Regions from separate parts of the Homo sapiens genome. Here regions 1 and 2 are each linked to region 3. The links are contacts of gene promoters, found by promoter capture Hi-C in blood cells and fetal thymus (Javierre and others, 2016). All regions are on one chromosome and are shown on one strand. The core of a region is centred on a gene start or on the middle of the fragment in contact, and the rest is flanking DNA. Distances in the headings are between cores, read along the strand shown.

What was found. Contacts are between HindIII fragments. The CHiCAGO score rates a contact against its expected background, and 5 or more counts as called.
Region 1: a fragment that was not itself captured here is called in contact with the fragment with the promoter of PITPNM3 in region 3 in 1 of 17 cell types (M1 macrophages); the score reaches 5.2 in M1 macrophages.
Region 2: a fragment that was not itself captured here is called in contact with the fragment with the promoter of PITPNM3 in region 3 in 2 of 17 cell types (M2 macrophages and M1 macrophages); the score reaches 6.5 in M2 macrophages.

The regions. Positions count from the first base shown.
Region 1 is chr17:5,596,023-5,598,722 of GRCh38, forward strand. No RefSeq gene overlaps it. Among named protein-coding and RNA genes, the nearest start is that of NLRP1, 13 kb to the left of the region's middle. The HindIII fragment of the contact is 724 bases long and covers 1,045-1,768 here.
Region 2 is chr17:5,561,551-5,564,250 of GRCh38, forward strand. All of the region lies in intron 3 of NLRP1 (NLR family pyrin domain containing 1), which reads right to left. Among named protein-coding and RNA genes, the nearest start is that of NLRP1, 22 kb to the right of the region's middle. RefSeq lists an enhancer at 49-550. The HindIII fragment of the contact is 5,112 bases long and covers 1-2,700 here.
Region 3 is chr17:6,555,181-6,557,880 of GRCh38, forward strand. PITPNM3 (PITPNM family member 3) reads right to left here and starts at 1,375. Exons shown (of 20, transcript NM_031220.4): 1 at 1,205-1,375. The coding sequence starts at 1,226. RefSeq lists an enhancer at 1-286. The HindIII fragment of the contact is 11,474 bases long and covers 1-2,700 here.

The DNA of each region.
Region 1 (2,700 bases), core at 157-2,656, 960 kb before region 3:
TCCTGGCAATCTCTGCTATGGTTCTAGCTCGGGCTGGGTGGCCCTGGCTTCTCGGTTTTGGTAATATTGTCACCCCCGTGTCCTGCAGCTGTTGGAGGGGAAACTAGCCCCTGCTGTTGCTCATATTTGGGTGGCTTTACCATCTCTGCGTGGCTTCTTCATCTTTTTTATCCTCACTGTGGCCCGTCCTTCCTATCAAATTCCCTGTGATGGAAATACTAGAGTGGTTTCGGTTTTCCCGACTAGATCCTGATCATCATAGTCTTCTTTCATCAGTCAGCTGAAGGTTCAGTCCTGGGGTTCCTAGACCAGCCTCTGCCCTGGGTTCTACCCATAGGGGTCTCTTGTCTTGGCCACAGTGTTCCTGCAAGCCAGCCATTGGTGGCCCTTATAAGCACCAGTGTTGCCTCCTGCAGCTATTTGCCTTATGATTCCCTTTCAGAGATTTCGGTGATCTGGATCCTTGGCTGAATCAATGCTTCTGTTGGTTCTTATGGAGGAGGATTCTGAATCCTGGCGGAGTGGGGTAGGAGGCTTTGTGCAAGACCACAACCCACATGTGGCCACTACTTCCAGGATGCTAATTACCTTCTGTGCCTTGACACTTGGAAGAAGAGTGTTTGAAACACATTCAGATGCTAGTAAACTCCAGCAATTCATTATGCCAAGAGCTGGTGCCAATAGGAAATATAAACCCTTCCTGAGAGGCTTGGCTGAACTCAACAATTGATCAGTGTAGGATGATTAAGGGAAATGAGTCTGTCATGCAGCCACCCCCCACTATGGAGCAGTGATAATGTGTCTTAGGGGACCTGGCTGGAGCCAGAACCGGGGCTGAGTGGACCAGAGGCTGACCCCCTGGTGGCTCTCACATCCCTTTGCAGGATGGCAGGAGGGTGAAGGGACTCCCCAACCCTTGGTGGAGTTAAAGGTGTAGGAACTGAGGTGAGGGAACCAGGGCTGGAGAGATGGATGGGTCACTCCAAGGCAGCAGATGGGACCAGGTGAAACCTTTCCCAAGAGTGGAGAAATGAAAATACTTAAAGCTTCAGTTTGACAAGTATGTATGATAGAGGAGAAGAGAAAAAGCTAAGAGAGGGCAAGGAAGAGAGATCTGGGCACTAGAAAAAGGGTGGACATTTCTTTTCCTTTTTTGTCTTTTTTTTTGAGGTGGAGTCTCACTTTGTCACCCAGGCTGGAGTGCAGTGGCGTGACCTTGGCTCACTGCAACCTCCGCCTCCCAGGTTCAAGTGATTCTCCTGCCTCAGCCTCCCGAGTAGCTGGGATTACAGGTGTGTGCCACCATGCCCAGCTAATTTTTGTATTTTTAGTAGAGACGGGGTTTCACCATGTTGGCCAGGCTGGTCTCAAACTCCTGACCTTGTGATCTGCCTGCCTCGACCTCCCAAAGTGCTAGGATTACAGGTGTGAGCCACCGTGCCCGGCCAAGGGTGGACATTTCTATAAAGGTCATTGAGGAGATAGGATGGCAGGAGACAGGAATTCAACATGCAGGACACTGAGGCCCATTCCACAAGACAGGAGCCTGTGGCTTCATTTATGTAGTGCCTGTGTGTGCCAGGTACGTGGGAATGCAGAGGTGAAAAAGACAGTGCCTGCTCTTTGTGTGCTCCACAACTGTGGAGACTGAGAATAAAGGAGATGACCACAATTCAGTGTGGTATGGGCTCAGGTGTGTGGGCACACCAGTTGCTGTGGGGTTTAAAAGAGGAGCACCTGAGTTAAGGAAACTTGGGATGCCAGGTAAAGCTTCCAGGAGGAAGAGATTTCTGCATGGAGTCTTGAAGGAAAAACTGTAGTTATGCAGGAAGAGGAAGCAGAGGGGCTGGTGAAGGCATCACAGCATCTGGAGAGTGGTACCCAAAGGCCTGGAGTGAGGGAGAGCTGGGTGTGTTTTGGGAGCTGGATGGGTGATGATGTGAGCAGAGGCTGGAGAGGCAAGTGGTGGTGGAGGTACCCTGGGAGGCCTGATGCTACTAGGAGTTTGGACTGGCCTCCTGCGAGTCATGTGGAGCTGTTGAAACAATATGCTGGAGGAGTGATACAGGGAGATTTATAGTTTAGAAAGATTCCCCTGGCTGCAACGGGGAAGTGTGATCAGAGAGGGTAAGACCGAGGCAAGAAGACCACACAGGTGGCACTTGTGATGGTTCATGTGACAACTGCTTCCTACCAGCCCAGGCTATGCTGTGACTCCAGACAGTCCAGCTATAACAACCAGGCAGAGGGAGCCTGTCCCATCCCTGACCAGGATCTGTGGGCCCTAATGGGGCTCACTCTGGCACGGAGAGAGGGACCTTGGGGAGCTGCTTTGGGAGCAGAAGTGGCAGAGAAGTCAGCTGGCCAGGCTCTGAGATGTGCCCTGTCTTCTGCAGCTGACCGCAGGGCCAATGCGGTTTGACTCAGTGGGGCCAGTGCTTTGCAGGTGGAGGCAGAGATTTAACGGCTGCTGCTGCTGAGTTGTGAGAGTGAGGGTTTTTCGGGAATGTATGTGAAGGAGGCATCTCTATACAGCTAAATTCCTTTATTAACTTAATGAGTTTGGCTGCTTTCCTGGAAATGCAAGTGCCATTTGGCACCATCGCTGCTGCCTCAGAAAGGGTGTCATTACACTAAGAATCTGTAGGAACGTAGAATAGTGATAAACGAAGCTGCCTGGGAGATTACACAGCATCACGC
Region 2 (2,700 bases), core at 118-2,617, 990 kb before region 3:
CTCCTGCCTCAGCCTCCCGAGTAGCTGGGACTACAGGCGCCCGCCACCGCGCCCGGCTAATTTTTTGTATTTTTAGTAGAGACGGGGTTTCACCTTGTTAGCCAGGATGGTCTCGATCTCCTGACCTCATGATCCACCCGCCTCGGCCTCCCAAAGTGCTGGGATTACAGGCGTGAGCCACCGCGCCCGGCCCCATGTGGTTTTTATACTTGCCATGAAACTGTTCTTTGGGATATTATTTTGTTCAGGTTCCCCACTTGGACAGCAGAGGGGGTGACTCTGCCCATCCCTGCCACTGGTAGCCAGGCGGGCAATGTCTGCTAGCAGTCTGCTTCTGTCTGAACTCAGCCAGCAGAGGCAAACTCCCGGTTCCCCGAGAAACACTCTGAAGGCAGGGTGGGTGACTCCACCCACCACCGCCTCTCCTAGCCATGCAGGCCATGTCTGCTAGAGCTTCCAGCGCAGTGGTCCTAATTCTGTCTGAATCCGGCTGAGGGGTGCAGCCTCCTGTTACTGCCCAGGGAAACACCCAGATGGCAGGGTGGGTGACTCCAACCACCTCTGCCTGTGGTAGCCAGATGGGCCACACCTGCTAGAGCTTCCAGCCCAGCAGTCCCGCTACTCTGTGGGTGGGTGCCATCCCCTGTTCCTCTGGGAAGCACCCAGACAGCTGATTACGTGACCCCACCCACTTCTGCAGATCCTAGCTGAGCAGGACTTGCTGGTTTGGACAATGCCCAAGCAGGGAAGAGCCCTCATTCTCTTATCACTGACAGAGGTGAGATGTCCGAGTTTGTAGGCTGGTGGAGGAGTGAGGTGGAGGAGGTATGCCTCTCTCTGCAGGGCGGACCCAGCAAGGATACGGCCTGTCTGCCAACCACGGCCCCTGCCTGAAGGAACCCCGTTTACCAGAACACCCAACAAAAGAAATGCAGGTGTGGAGCCAGTAATCAGAAGGGTCTTGTCTAAGGCCCAGGAGTGGACTAAGTGAGAAGGTCACCCCCCTGTCCCCAACACACACAGAACACTACTGCCAACTGTACTGAAACATGAAGAACCACGCAGCAGAGTAAGAGTGTATCTCCTGGTGATCACTCTTAAGCACTGCCTACTGGATGGCGGCCCCAAAATACAACACCAAAATGTTTTGCAGTATTCAGTGCCATGAAAACTAAGGCAAAGGCTCCCACCAGTGCCCTGCCCCAGCCAACACACACGCACCCTGCCATGCCACTGTGGCTGGTGCCATGTGTGAGTGAGCACAGATCCTGCTGGCACTGCCACAAGGAAGCACTTTGGCCTGCACCCCCACTGGACTGTTGAGGCCAGCGGACTGGGAACACCTTGGCCCCTCTAATGCAGCAGGTTCTGAACCCCAGGAGGCCAGAGGAAAAGGCTGGGGACCCAGTACCAGCCTTCTAGAGTTAGAGCAGGCAGCTCAGGAGTGCTGAGCTGAGCCTTGGCCACCTGAAATCTTCCAGAATCGAAGCCAGTTGACTGAACCCACCTTATACGACAATCAAACCCCCAAGGGCTTCAAACAAGATAAAAACAAAACAAAAAAAACCCCATCCAAAGGAAGACAACTTCAAAGATTAAAGGAACATCAGCCCACACACACGAGAAAGAACCAGCTCAAGAGCTCTGGTAACTCAAAAAGCCACAGTGTCTTCCTATCTCCAGATGTGTGCACTAGTGCCTCAGCAATGGTATTTTAACAGGCTGAAATGGCTGAAATGACAGACATAGAATTCAGAATATGAGTAGGAATGAAGATCATTGAGATTCAGGAGAAAGTCAAAATCCAGTCCAAGCAATCTAAGGAATATGATAAAATGATACAGGAGCTGAAAGACGAAATGGTCATTTTAGGAAAGAACCAAACTGATCTGATAGAGCTGGAAATCTCACTACAAGAATTTCATAATACAATAGCAAGTATTAACAACAGGATAGACCAAGCTGAGGAAAGAATCTCAGAGCCTGAAGACTGGTTCTCCAAATTAACTCAGTCAGACAAAAATAAAAAAGAATGAAAACAAATGAACAACACCTCTGAGGAATATGGGATTTTGGAAAGAGACCAAATCTATGACTCGCTGGCATCCCTGAAAGAGCATGAGAAAGCCAGCAACTTGGAAAACGTATTTGAAGATATTGTCCACAAAAGTTTCCCCAACCTCCCTAGAGAAGCCAACATTTAAATTCAGGAAATGCAAAGAATCCTTGTGAGATACTATACAAGACAATCATCCCTAAAACACATAGTTCTCAGATTCCCCAAGTCCTCAGATTCTCCAAGGCCAACATGAAAGAAAAAACAATAAAGGCAGCTAGACACAGAAGGGGCAGGTCACCTAAAAAGGGAACCTCATCAGGCTAACAGTGAACTTTTCAGCAGAAGCCCTGCAAGGCAGAAGAGATTGGGGGCCTATATTCAGCATCCTTAAAGAAAAGAAATTCCAGCCAATAATTTCTTTTCTTTTTTAAAATTTTAAAATTATTTTTTAAAAATTTTGTGGATATGTAGTAGGTGTATGTATTTATGGGGATCCATGAGATGGTTTGATACAAGTAAGCACTGTAAAATAAGCACATCATGGAGAATGGGGTATGCAGCTCCTCAAACATTTAACCTTTGAGTTACAAACAATCCAACTATATTCTTTGTTATTAAAAAGTATACAATTAATTTATTAT
Region 3 (2,700 bases), core at 125-2,624:
TTCCATACTGGCTGTGCCTCACACAACCGGCCCCACCCCGACAGGACTCCTTGGGGACAGAACGGGAGTGCATTCTCAGGCACCTAAATCTTACAGGCTCAGTGCCTGCACAGGGAGACGGGTCCGCAGCCCAGGGTCCCGGGCAGCTTTCGGGCTTGGGGGTGGATTGACACACAGCCCGATGGTATTCACACCCATTCCTTCACTGTCGCGCCCGGTCCTGGGGGACGGCATGGCACCAGCCAACGTCACGGGTTGGGTGTGAGTTCATGGTAGATTCTCACACGCCAGCCTCACAAGAGGCACTGCCGAGACCAGGCTTGCTGCCGCCTACTGTATGGCCGGCCCTGTGGGCACAGCTGTCCTCCACCCGCCTCCCAAGGCACCATCGGGCCCAGAATGTGCCCGATGAGTCACGGGCCTGGGTCTCCCCAGCATGGGCGCAGCAGGGGGGCTGAGTCCGCCTGAGCCCCGGTGCCCAGCTCAGGGTCTGGCACAGAGCAGATGCTAGTGAATGAACGTCGGGCTGGATGAATGAACGAATGACTAATGCCCGCTCCCTCAAACCACAGGCTACACCGTCTGAGCCTGGGGGAGGGCAGAGCCCACGGGACCCCAGAAGAGGCCTCCGCAGCTGAGGCTTTGCGTCCCAGGGTCGATGGGGGAGGGGGCGGGGCGGCCAGCAGCCGGCGCGGCACGGGGCTCCCCTCCTTCCCGAGAAGGAATCTGGGTCTCTGGACTGAGCTGGTGACGGGGGCTGGGGCGGGGGGTTGTGGCGTCCTGGATGGAGAGAGCTGCAGGAGCAGGGGGCGCGTCCCGGTTTGCGTTGGGGTGTGGGACGAAGCGGCGGCCGCGGGACATCCCCTTCGGTGGCGAAGCCCGGGTCTGCCCGGGGCCTCCGCGGGGTGCAGAGGGCTCCCAACGGCGGGACTGGCCCGGGGCGCCGCAGACCTGGCCCTTTCCGGCGGGGCCGTGGAGAAGGGGACGCGGTGTCCCCCGAGGTGACCGGGGGCGCAGGAAGGACGGGGGGCGCGCGGAGCCCCCTCTCCACGCGCGGGAGGTCCAGCCCCGCTACCGCCCCCTACGCCCTCCCGGGACCTCCGCCCACCTGCGCGAGGGGTTCACCTGGGCCGGCGGCCCCTCCTCTAGACGCGCGAGTCCCTCCCCCGGGCCCCGGCCCTGCCCTCCCCGCGCCCGCCCTCACCTGCACGGCCCGCCTTGGCCATGTCCCGGGCGGCGGGCTCCGGCGGCGCTACGCGCGCTCCTCGCGCTTCCCGGGCCCGGCCCCGACCGCCTCCGGCCCCGAACGGACTCCGAGCGCCGCGCCCGCGCCCCCGCCCCGCTCGCCTCGGCTGCCGCCACCGCAGCCGCCGCCGCCTCGCCGCTCCCTCCCGCTCCCTTAAAGGCGCCGAGCGGCGGCCGCGCCCCCCCCCCACCCCACCCCCCGCGCCGCCGGGGAGGGACTGACGAAGGAAGGCGCCCAACGCCGCCCCCGCGGGCCCGCACCCCCGCCCCGGGCCGTGGCCGCCGCGCTCCAGCCCGCTCCGCTCCGGCCCGCGCGGCCACCGCAGCGCGCGAGGGGCGGCAGCCCAGGGGCTCAGAGACGCGGAGACAGCCCGAGACACTGCGGGCCAGAGACGGGGCCCTGGACTGGGAGAGGGGCGCACAGACTATTAGACAGCGCTGGAGAGAGACGCTCCTAGGGCCAGAACGCCGAGGTGGAGGGAGAGAGAGAGAAATTCAGAGGAGACCAGAGACCCAGAGCCCGGCTCCGGCTCCGGGAGAGACGGACAGAGGGAGCGGAGAGAGGAAGGAGGACAGGGATCCAAGGGAGGCCCCCACGAAGTCAAGAGGAAAGTCGCTCTGGGATCAGAGACAAGAGAGGGACCCCCTCCATCAGCCCCCGCTCCAGGGGTTCTGGATCATTTATGGCGTCTGACCTAACCTCAAAAGAGAAAGGATTCCCGTGATTTTAACCCTCAAGGGATAAGTAAAACACTTGCACATCCACCTGGGGTTCTAGGCTGGAGCAGGCTTTGTGGACCCCAGCGGCCTGGTGGTGAGCAGTACCCGCCTTCCACTTCCTAAATCGGGATGCAGAGATTCTAGTGGACAGGCCTTGTGGTCCGGGGAGATATGGGTTATGACTTCTGTTTAGGGGCAGCAGGGATCCACAGTCCAGCCCCAAAAGAGAGCAGGAGATGGCCAATTGTATTTGGCGGTGCCTGAGAGGTAACAACCCTCCACTGAGAGGGTGCCCTGCCTCCCCCAGGAATTGGTAAGGCTGAAGCCCAGTTACCATCTGTAGAGCCAGGCACCCAACCCACCCTGTCCCACTCCACTTAACAGGGAAAAGGTCAACTGGAGAATTCCATCCATGGTCCAGGCTCCAGGGTCCTGCAAGCTCCTCTATGGAAACAGGGCACACATGGGGTTAGATGGGGGCTCTCAGTCCAGTGCCTTCTCTGGGGCTTTGACTCCATTCACAAGATTCCTGCTAAGCAGTCCTCCAGCTCCTGGTTGGTTACCTCCAAGGACAGGAAGCTCAGTATCTTAAGTGAGAGTTCTTCCTTTTATTAATTTTTTTTTTTTTTTTTTGGCTAGTGCTGGCCTTAAGAATGTTCTTACTCGTTTGAGCTGAAATCTACAACCCGCATGTCCCATCCATGAGTTCTGCTCTGCCTTCCGACACCTCACCCA